Regions from separate parts of the Homo sapiens genome. Here region 1 is linked to region 2. Evidence: promoter capture Hi-C in 16 types of primary human blood cells and fetal thymus (Javierre and others, 2016). All regions are on one chromosome and are shown on one strand. The core of a region is centred on a gene start or on the middle of the fragment in contact, and the rest is flanking DNA. Distances in the headings are between cores, read along the strand shown.

What was found. Contacts are between HindIII fragments. The CHiCAGO score rates a contact against its expected background, and 5 or more counts as called.
Region 1: a contact is called between a fragment that was not itself captured here and the fragment with the promoter of UBE3A in region 2, in 1 of 17 cell types (fetal thymus). The highest score is 8.8, in fetal thymus.

Annotation. Positions count from the first base shown.
Region 1 is chr15:22,780,274-22,785,076 of GRCh38, forward strand. No RefSeq gene overlaps it. Among named protein-coding and RNA genes, the nearest start is that of NIPA1, 4.0 kb to the right of the region's middle. The HindIII fragment of the contact is 7,008 bases long and covers 1-4,803 here.
Region 2 is chr15:25,435,937-25,441,077 of GRCh38, forward strand. It overlaps UBE3A (ubiquitin protein ligase E3A), which reads right to left and starts at 3,088. Exons shown (of 13, transcript NM_130839.5): 1 at 2,553-3,088. RefSeq lists enhancers at 2,204-3,149, 3,150-4,095 and silencers at 2,233-2,652, 3,013-3,352. The HindIII fragment of the contact is 4,364 bases long and covers 1,775-5,141 here.

The DNA.
Region 1 (4,803 bases), core at 752-3,251, 2.7 Mb before region 2:
TTTATCCATTGATGGACACTTAGATTGTTTCCATATCTTGGCTATTATGGTTAGGACTGCAATGAACATGAGAATACAGGTAACTTTACATAGTAATGATTTCATTTCCTTTGGGTGTATGCTCAGAAGAGGGATTGCTGAGTCATATGGTAGTTCTATTTTTAATTTCTCTAGAAATCTTCATACTCTTTTCCAGAATGACTGTATCAATGTACATTCTCATCAACAGTATGCAAAAGTTCCTATTTCGCCACACCCTTGCCAACATTTATCTTTTGACTTTTTGATAATAGTCATAAGGGGTGTGAGGTGGCATCTCAATGGGTTTGATTTGCATTTCCCTAATGATTTACAATGCAAAACGCCTTTCAGATACCCACTTGCTATTTTCATGTTTTGTTTAAAGAAATGTCTATTCAAGTTTTTTAAAAACATTTTAAAAATTAGGTTATTTGTTTTGAGTTGTATTAATTCTTTATACATTTTGGATTTTTTTTTTTTTTTTTTTTTGGAGACAGGGTCTTGCTCTGTTACACAGACTGGAGTACAGTGGCACAATCACAGCTTACTTGACCTTCTGGGTTCAAACACTCCTCCATCTCAGCCTCCCAAGTAGTTGTGACTACAGGCGCACACCACCATGCCTGGCTAAGTTCTAAATTTTTTGTTAAGACAAGGTCTCACTATGTTGCCAGACCTGGACTCAAACTCCTGGGCTCAAGTGATCCTCCTACCTCAGCTTCTGAAAGTGCTGGGATTAAGGAGTGAGCCACTGCACCGGGCTAAATGTTGGATATTTACCCCTAATTGGCTGGGTATAGTGGCTCACACTTGTAATCTCAGCACTTTGGAGGCCGAGGTGCTTGGATCACTTGTGGTCAGGGGTTCGAGACCAGCCTGGCCAATATGGTGAAACCCCATAATGGAGTTTCGGCTTGTTTAACTGGGAAATGAGGATCATGACCATCCCTGTCAAGCAGGAGAGGAGATGGGCTGATGTGTATTGTGAGGCCCAACATGGTGAAACCCCATTTCTACTAAAAATACAAAAATTAGCCAGGCATGGTGGTGGGCACCTGATATCCCAGCTACTCGGGAGGCTGAGGCAGGAGAATTGCTTGAACCCAGGAGGTGGAGGTTGCAGTGAGCCAAGATTGCACCATTGCACTCCTGTGTGGGCAACAGAGTAAGACTTCGTCTCATTAAAAAAAAAAAAAAAAGAATATTCACTTCAATAAATGGTGAGACCAGCTTTGCAAAGATGACAGTGAGAGAAGTTTAGCATGGCTGACTCCATCTTGCTTCCAGTCTCACGGGCCTGCTGTCTTTGCTCATTCCTGGGCATAGGCCAAATCAGCCATGGGAGAAATGTAGTTCATAGTCTAACGTTGCCATTTCCAGTCCTCGGGGGTCACCTCTTTCCACTCCACGCTTAGTTATCAATTTGTTACTCTGCTTTAAAATGTACCTTTTTTTTTTTGTAATCTCAGCTACTCAGGAGACTGAGGCAGGAGAATCGGTTGAACCTGGGATGCGGAGGTTGCAGTGAGCTGAGATCGCACCATTGCACTCCAGCCTGGGCAACAGAATGAAACTGTCTCATAAAACAAATATAACATGAAATGGTAACGTCTTTCTTTAAAACCAAAGAAAATATGCAAGGCGGATGTCTTCCTGTCACTTCGCACAGTCTACTCCCATAGCGCCTGAGCCCCAGACCCCAAACTCACTGTCCTGCTCGGGGACCCCCAGACCACAGTGAACATTACGGGTACCCCAAGTACTCTCCTATCCTCACCTCGCTCCTGCAGTAAATGGCTAAATGAATAACTCAGAAGTGAAGCCAAAAAGAAAAAGAAAATGCACATGGGGAACAGGAGAGGAGAGCAGAGGCCACAGTGTGGAGGCCTGGGCTGATACACTGCAAAGAGATCTTTGGGGCTCCGAAGAGATCTTTGAGGCTCCAGGTCTCATGAGTGGGGGCCAGGCTCCCTAGAGAAACCCTTCTTGTCTAGGGCTGGGGAGCCCACCAGAGTGACCCAATCAGTTCTCAGGGCCTGTGATGGGGCCACATGGTTTTGAGAAGCCGGTGTTCAGCTCCATCCTAAAGAGCACTCATGCACGTTGGGGAGGAGGGCCGGGGTGCACAGCTCTGACCTGAGTCAGACCCACCTCAGGACTGAGCCCAGCAGAAGGAGGCCCAGAGTCACTGACCATAAAAGGAGCAGATGCCCTCCCCCGTGTTGGTTGAGATGAGTCTTGGGCATTAACTCTAATAATTTCTAACTGCACCCAGAAATACTGATTCACACAGCAACTAGTAAATAATAGCCTTTTAGAGCTAAAAAAAAAAAAGCCTTGTATGGTTTATTATGAATTAACATATGCATTTTACACAAACTAGAGGCACCGTGGTGGGCCAGCAGCAGCCTGTTAGGGGCCACAGCAAGGAGACTGGATTTCCTCAAGTGCAATGGGAGTTACTGGCTAGGCTTTAAGGTTTTAGCCACAGGAAAGATGAATGTATTTCAGAGCAACGTGGGTGGATTCAAAATGAGGTTTAGAACTAGATCCATTAAATTTTTTTTTTTTTTTAGACGGAGTCTGACTCTTATTGCCCAGGCTGGAGTGCAGTGGTGCTATCTCGGCTCACTGCAACCTCTGCCACCCAGGTTCAAGGGATTCTCCTACCTCAGCCTCCCGAGTAGCTGGGATTACAGGCACCTGCCATTGTGTCTGGCTAATTTTTGTATTTTTAGTAGAGACGGGGTTTCACCATCTTGGCCAGGCTGGTCTTCAACTCCTGACCTCATGATCCACCCACCTTGGCCTCCCAAACTGCTGAATTTTTTATCTGAAAAATCTCCCACCGGGCGCGGTGGCTCACGCCTGTAATCCCAGCACTTTGGGAGGCCAAGGCGGGCACATCATGAGGTCAGGAGATCGAGACCATCCTGGCAAACGCAGTGAAACCCCATCTCTACTAAAAACATAAAAAATTAGCCAGGCATGGTGGCGGGTGCTTGTAGTCCCAGCTACTTGGGAGGCTGAGGCAGGAGAATGGCGTGAATCCGGGAGGTGGAGCTTGCAGTGAGCCAAGATCGCGCCACTGCACTCCAGCCTGGGCAACAGAGCGAGACTCCATCTCAAAAAAAAAAAAAAAGAAAAGAAAAGAAAAGAAAAAAAAGAAAAATCTCCCCTCTCCAAAAATCTCCCGGCATTTCTACAGAAGTCTCTACCTAGGTAAGGAGAAGAAACAATTCTTGGCCGGGTACAGTGGCTCACGCCTGTAATCCCAGCACTTTGGGAGGCCGAAGCTGGTGGATCACGAAGTCAGTAGTTCAAGACCAGCCTGGCCGAGATGGTGAAACCCTGTCTCTACTAAAAATACAAAAAAATTCGCCAGGCGTGGTGGCAGGCGTCTGTAATCCCAGCTACTTGGGAGGCTGAAGCAGAGAATTGGTTGAACCCATGAAGCGTAGGTTGCAGTGAGCCAAGATCACGCCACTGCACTCCAGCCTGGGTGACAGAGCAAGACTCCATCTCAAAACATAAGACGAAAAAAAAATTTTTTAGGGAGCTGAAAAGTGAACTGATTTCCTCATTTCTCCTTGCAAGGAATCAATTGATAGCCCAAAATTGAAACCCAGAGTTAAAATAAACGTAACTCCCACCCTCTTAGTGTTTCTCACTTTTTTTTTTTTTTTTTTGAGACAGGGTCTCACTTCTGTTGCCCAGGCTGGAGTGCAGTGGCGTGATCATGGCTCACTGTAGCCTCAACTTCTGGGGTCAAGTGATCCTCCCATAGCCTCCTGAGTAGCTGGGACTACAAGCACATGTCACCATGCCTGGCTAATTTTTGTATTTTTTTGCAGAGATGGGGTTTCATCATGTTGCCCAGGCTGATCTCAAACTCCTGGGCTCAAGTGATCTGCTGGCCTTGGCCTCCCAAAGTACTGGGATTATAGGCATGAGCCACTGTACCTGGCCTACTAACTTTAATTTTAGGTGTATCTTTTAGGAAGTAATATCTCATGGCAAAATAATGTTTGTCATTCAGTAGTTACTGTAGTTTCATTTCAGTTTTTCTTTTGTTAAATTCAAGCAAAATATAGTTTTATGTTTTTAATTAAAATCCCATATGTGTTTCCCCATCAGATAAAATATGCCTGTCATTTAACCTATGTACTCACATGGAAAAATGTCTGGGGTGGAGTTCTTTTTTTTTTCTTTTTTTTTTTGAGACGGAGTCTCACTCCGTCGCCCAGGCTGGAGTGCAGTGGTGCCATCTCGGCTCACTGCAAGCTCCGCCTCCCGGGTTCACGCCATTCTCCTGCCTCAGCCTCCTGAGTAGCTGGGACTACAGGCGCCCTCCACCATGCCCGGCTAATTTTTTGTATTTTTAGTAGAGACCGGGTTTCATCGTGTTAGCTAGGATGGTCTCGATCTCTTGACCTCCTGATCCATCCACCTGACCTCCGGATCCGTCCGCCTCCGCCTCCCAAAGTGCTGGGATTACAGTCATGAGCCACCTCCCCGGCCCTATTTTATATTTCTTCACAAAATAATAATGCTGTATGCAAAGCTGCCAAAAGGTTTATACTTTTCGTTTGTTTTTGAGACAATCTTGCTCTGTTGCCCAGGCTGGAGTGCAGTGGTGCAATAACAGCTCACTGCAACCTCCACCTCAAGCCATCCTCCCACCTCTGCCTCCAGAGTATCTGGGGTTGGAGGTAAAAGCCACCACGCCCCGCTAATTAATTTTTTTCTTTTTTTGGTAGAGACGGGTCTCGCTACGTTGCC
Region 2 (5,141 bases), core at 1,838-4,337:
GTAATACTTATTGAGTGCCTACGTGTTAGGCGTTTTACATACTTTAAGCCTCACAACTCTGGGGAAGTTTCACCAACCCATTTTACAGATGACAAAACTGTGGCTTACCAAGATTAATAAGGCCAGAATTAAAATTAGGGTCTAATTCCAAAGATATTACCACTATACATACCAAGATGTCTTGTTACTACATTTTATCCTTACATTTGGCAGTGAGGGGAAAACTCAAAAAGCAGTCAAAAAACTTTTGTCCTGAACCAACATAAAAAGAGCACCTAAGACTTCATCCAGTATTTTACCGAAAGATCACTTCTAAAAGTTTGTCTTCACCCCGATCTAAAAATTAGAAAACTAATTTTCTTTCAGCAGCTGCATATGTACATAATGTAATGTTTCTACATTTAGACCTACACAATTATAAGTCTAAACAAAATATGTGTAACATGATTGGAGAACATAACTAGCAGTCATTTAAGAAAATGGACATTTGGAAACATCATTTCAAGAGCTTGGGATGAAAAATTTTGCTATGACCTATAAATCTGGATCATTCCACTGACTGACACTGAGAGAAACAGTGTATTATCACAGTTTACACAGTAAATTTTTTTGGAGGGGAGAGGGAGGAGATTGAAATAGAAATGATCGAAATAGAAATTATCTAAAGTTTAAGAAATACAACTGATTAAATGTTACATGTCAAAGACACTGTAGGTACCCAATAAATCCTGTTAAATGGACTGCACAAGTGGGATGAGAACACGTTTTCCCCACACCTCTGACTAGTATGTACCTTTCTTAGGAAGTTATTTTTTCAGCCATGGGAAAAAAAAGGGCAGAATTTAGGACAGATAAAACATAAGTAGCTTATAAATCCTCTGAAAGGAAATCAAAACACAGTATTTTGTATCTCTGTATAAAGTTAAGCTCCTCAGGGACAGGGGCAATGTCCAGAGGATAGTGAGCATACTACTTAGCAAACTAATGCAGGTTAATAAATATTGACACAGTAAGACTAGCATAGTTTACATTCTAATTTTGTAAAGATTATAAGTTACCTCTTCATATTCTGTTCTTTTATTTCTCCTGTGTATATTATAAATACACAAAGATTGAAAATTATTTCTTGAAGCTATTTCCTTTTTTATTTTTTGGTCAACTGTATTAGTGTTTCTTAAAAGGGCTTCTGGTCATCCTTAGGGCTTATCAGTAGCATCATTAATAATGTATTCATTTCACTAAAAATGTGGTAAGTAGCTTGGATTTAAAAACAGGATCTAATTTCAAAGCTATTTCCACTATACACACCAAGTTACAACTTTCTTATCTCTCCTAAATTCTAAATTTTACATGATTTACCAAATCACTTCTTAAGTAAGAGTACTTATTGATCAGAAGTGTGAGACAAACACCTTATCCCACTTGTCCAATTTATTCAACAAGATTGATTGGGTACCTTTGTGTCTCTGACAGGTAACTTTCAACAGTTGTATTTCTTAAACTTTAGGTCGTCTCCCAAAAAAAACTGTAATAATTTGCTGCTTCTCTCAATATTGCAGGCAGTAAAATGATCCAAAATTACGGGTCATATCCACATTTCTTCATGATTGAGGTTAACTGTGCACTGTAAACCCCATATGCTATTAGTTTACATTTTCAACAGCACCCTCGCCACTTAATAATCTCAAACAGATTTTGGACTGTTACTAATTTAGCATATCCATAAAAAGTCATTTAAAAAATGTAGACGCTAAATTCTCTTTCAAGGTTGCCAAGCTTCACCAGTGTCTGTATTAAAATTATTTCTAAAATTTTACGGACTAAGGCATTTGGTACATTCAATTCTACCTTTACCAACAAAAGCCTTTACCACCAAGATGAGGAAAGCATCCTTTTCATTTTCTACACTGAAAAGGGGGGGGAAAAAAGGCCAACTGCTTGCATACAGGTCTGCATATAACACAGCAGTCTCTGGCAAAGCCAATAACTCACGTTCAACTTCAGAAATCCTGGTGGCCGGTAACACAGAGTAACCTGTGCGCACAACCCTTGGGCTTGACATACCACTTCATCCGCCCTCCCTTCCCATCAATCCACCCCCAAAACCCCAACCCACCAAGCACACGGCTAAATATGTCTTCCCCAAGAGAGCCAAAAACCTTGAAAACGCCGAGAAAGGGCTCCCCTTTGAAGGAAAGGGCCTGCCCTTCCCTGTCTGGGGCCCCGGCTGGCTCGAAGAGCCTGGCTCCTAGGAGGCCCAAATCTCGACGCCTCGCACGTCCCGCCCCGCCCCGGGCCCGCTCGCGTCCCCTCGGGCGACAAAACCCTCCCGCCGTCGCTCAGCCAGGACTGACAGTTACGGCTGCAGCAGCCGCGGCCACCAGGGGCCTACTTCTGGCACCAGCCCCTTCGGACCACGCGCCCCCAAACACTCGCCTCGGCGGCGGGGGGCGGGGAAGGGGGGTGTCGACCTCGCCACAGCGGGCCCCGAAGGCCGGCCGAGTGACGGAGGGGAGCCAGCGCCGCCTGGCGCAGGCCGCGGCAACACTGACCTGTCGTCGCCCCCGCGCCTGGGCTGCGGCGGCCGCCTCACTGGTCGTAGTCGCCCTCGCCCGCCGCCTCCGCCCGCCACCGCCTCGTTCTCTTTCGCTGCCGCCACCGCCGGGGCTCATGCGGGACCCGCGCTTCCTTATCCGGAAAACGAGGCCGGGAAAGGGAGCGCCGGGGCCGCCGAAATCCCGGCGTTCGTCGCCAGCCGCCGCTGCCTGTCCACACCGGGGGGCTGAGGGGCCCTCCTGCCAGGGGCTACAGGCCGCGAGCTATTCCGAGGAGGAGCCGAAGGAGGCGCCGCCGCCCGCAGCCGAGCGCGCCGGGTCGGCAGAGGTGAAGCGTAAGTAGGCGGCGGATGGCGGGCGCCCGCGCTGGCGGATGGCTACGCGGCGGAGGGGTGCGCGAGCGAGCGAAGCCTGGTGTGTCGGGTCCTGGCGAAGGGAAAAGGCCCCGTCGTCTCCTGTAGTCACCCCGAGCCCAGCGCCACCATCTTGGGAGACACACGGATCTCGCGGCCGCGGCGCAAGACGGGAGGACTGGCTGGGCGGGCCGAGTATCCCGGCAGGCAGCGCGCGCCGCCCGGCCGGGCGAGGGCTCCAGGCCGGGACGCGGGGACGTGGGGCGGGGCCAAGACGCGCGGGAGGGCGCCGCGCTCCGCCCCTCCTTCCTTCGCCGGCCCCGCCTCCCTCCCGCTTGCCGTCGCCGCCGGCGCACGGGCCATTGGGAAGAGGAGGTGGCCTGCGGCCCCTCGGAGTCCCACCAGGCTCGGTCGCCATCTTGCGACTGGACAGAAAGGGTAATCCCTCTTTTTAGTTTCTGCTGTCTGTGACCCGAAAGAATAAACCTGGGACTTCCGGAAGCCCTCTGGGCACCCCCCCCCCCAGGAGGGTTGCAGAGCCCCTTGGTGTACCCAGCAGAGGAACGCCTCAGACTTTGTTGGGAAACGAATGGCTCTGAAAGTTAGCTGAAGCCGCTGGAATAGCCCCCCAGCCCCGAGGCGGGGCAGGTGCCTGCCGTTATTGGCTTTTCGACCCCAACCCTTTTCTATCTGGAGCTGCCTTTGTAGATGTTGCAGGGGTGCCCCGAGAGTGCAGGCCAGATTTTAGAGGACCAAGGTCATCTACTTAGGCCTCTTGCCAACACAGGATGTGTCAACTAGTTTACCAGAGACGAAGGTAAAGTCCCGTCTCCTGCAGTTGTTGACGTTCAGTAGGTCGTCGGTTAAGAAAAGTGGCTCCCTGGTTGACCCCAGCTGGATAGAGGCTAATTTTGATCCATATGACAGCTGAACGTAGTTAAAGCCATTAAAATTAAATCCATTTAAAGTCATATTTGGTACCAGGGTCACCATTTTAAAAGGTGTGTGTGTGTATGTGTGTGTGTGTGTGTGTGTGTGTGTATAGCTTTACAACACTTGCTAGCAAAGCCAAAAGAGTATCACTAACAATTCATAGTGTTACAACTTGCAACTTTGTTGATAAGCCCTTGAAGTACTAGATGAGTACCCATGTCTAGTATTCAGATTTTTTATATCAACAGTCGTACATAGCAGTGTATCTTTTTTAAATTTATTTTTATTTTTAAACTTAGAAATGGTGTCTTGCTATGTTAGGCCCAGGCTGGTCTCGAGCTCCTGGCCTCAAGTGATCCTCCCACCTCGGCCTCCCAAAGTTTTGGGACTACAGGCATGAGCCACAGTGCTCGGCCAGCAGTGTAATTTTTAACTGTCAGTCTCGGAACATCTTTTTTGTATAGCCAAGTGTGTGGGTGTGTGTGTGTATCCGCCTCACAACTATAACCAACCATTGAAAAACCAACAATAAGCTAGAAGAATTTAAGTTATTCCAGGACAACTGATGATAATGATAGTATTAAGCCATATTCGATTTTAAGATGTTTTAACTCAGCTCTTTACTCACTTTTCATTTCCTCTCATTACACATCCACATTTGGAAACTATTTGCTGTTATATTTCATGGAAAGGACTAGTAAGAATTATAATCTTTAAAAAAATTTATCTTCGCAAGTTTTCAAAATAGGCAACAAAGAATGTAAATCTTTAAGGACTTTATTGTTGGACTAATTAAAGCATACCATTTCTACTATATCTAGCATATGGAGATACTTATAGGTATTCTTCCTTTTAAGTAGAAATTGACAATAAATTAAGTGTAATTTTATAATGGCCTGGTGTATCAAAGTGTGGCGGAAATCCCTGAGTTCCAAAAAGATTAAAGACCGAAGGGAAATAAGTCTGCTTTTAGCTAGATGTCAGAATGACTATTCATTGCTTTACTGAGATCAAGGAGGATCTTAATTCCTCCTGGAGAAATTACGTATATCCGTTTTAGTTCATTAATTTTAAATCTGTATTCTTATGTGTGACATTAGTATTAGAATTCTTTCAAGATTTCACTGTGCTTTTTGTTTTATCCATTTTCAAATTTAGAAATGTTTGCTCATCAAACTTACCAACATAAATACTTTCAGGAATCCTTAAGATACTAGCAGTGTTCCACTTCCCTATACACCTGTTTATATGAAAAATAAAAAAATTCTCCCATATCAGACCCATGTGTTTTTTTTTTTTT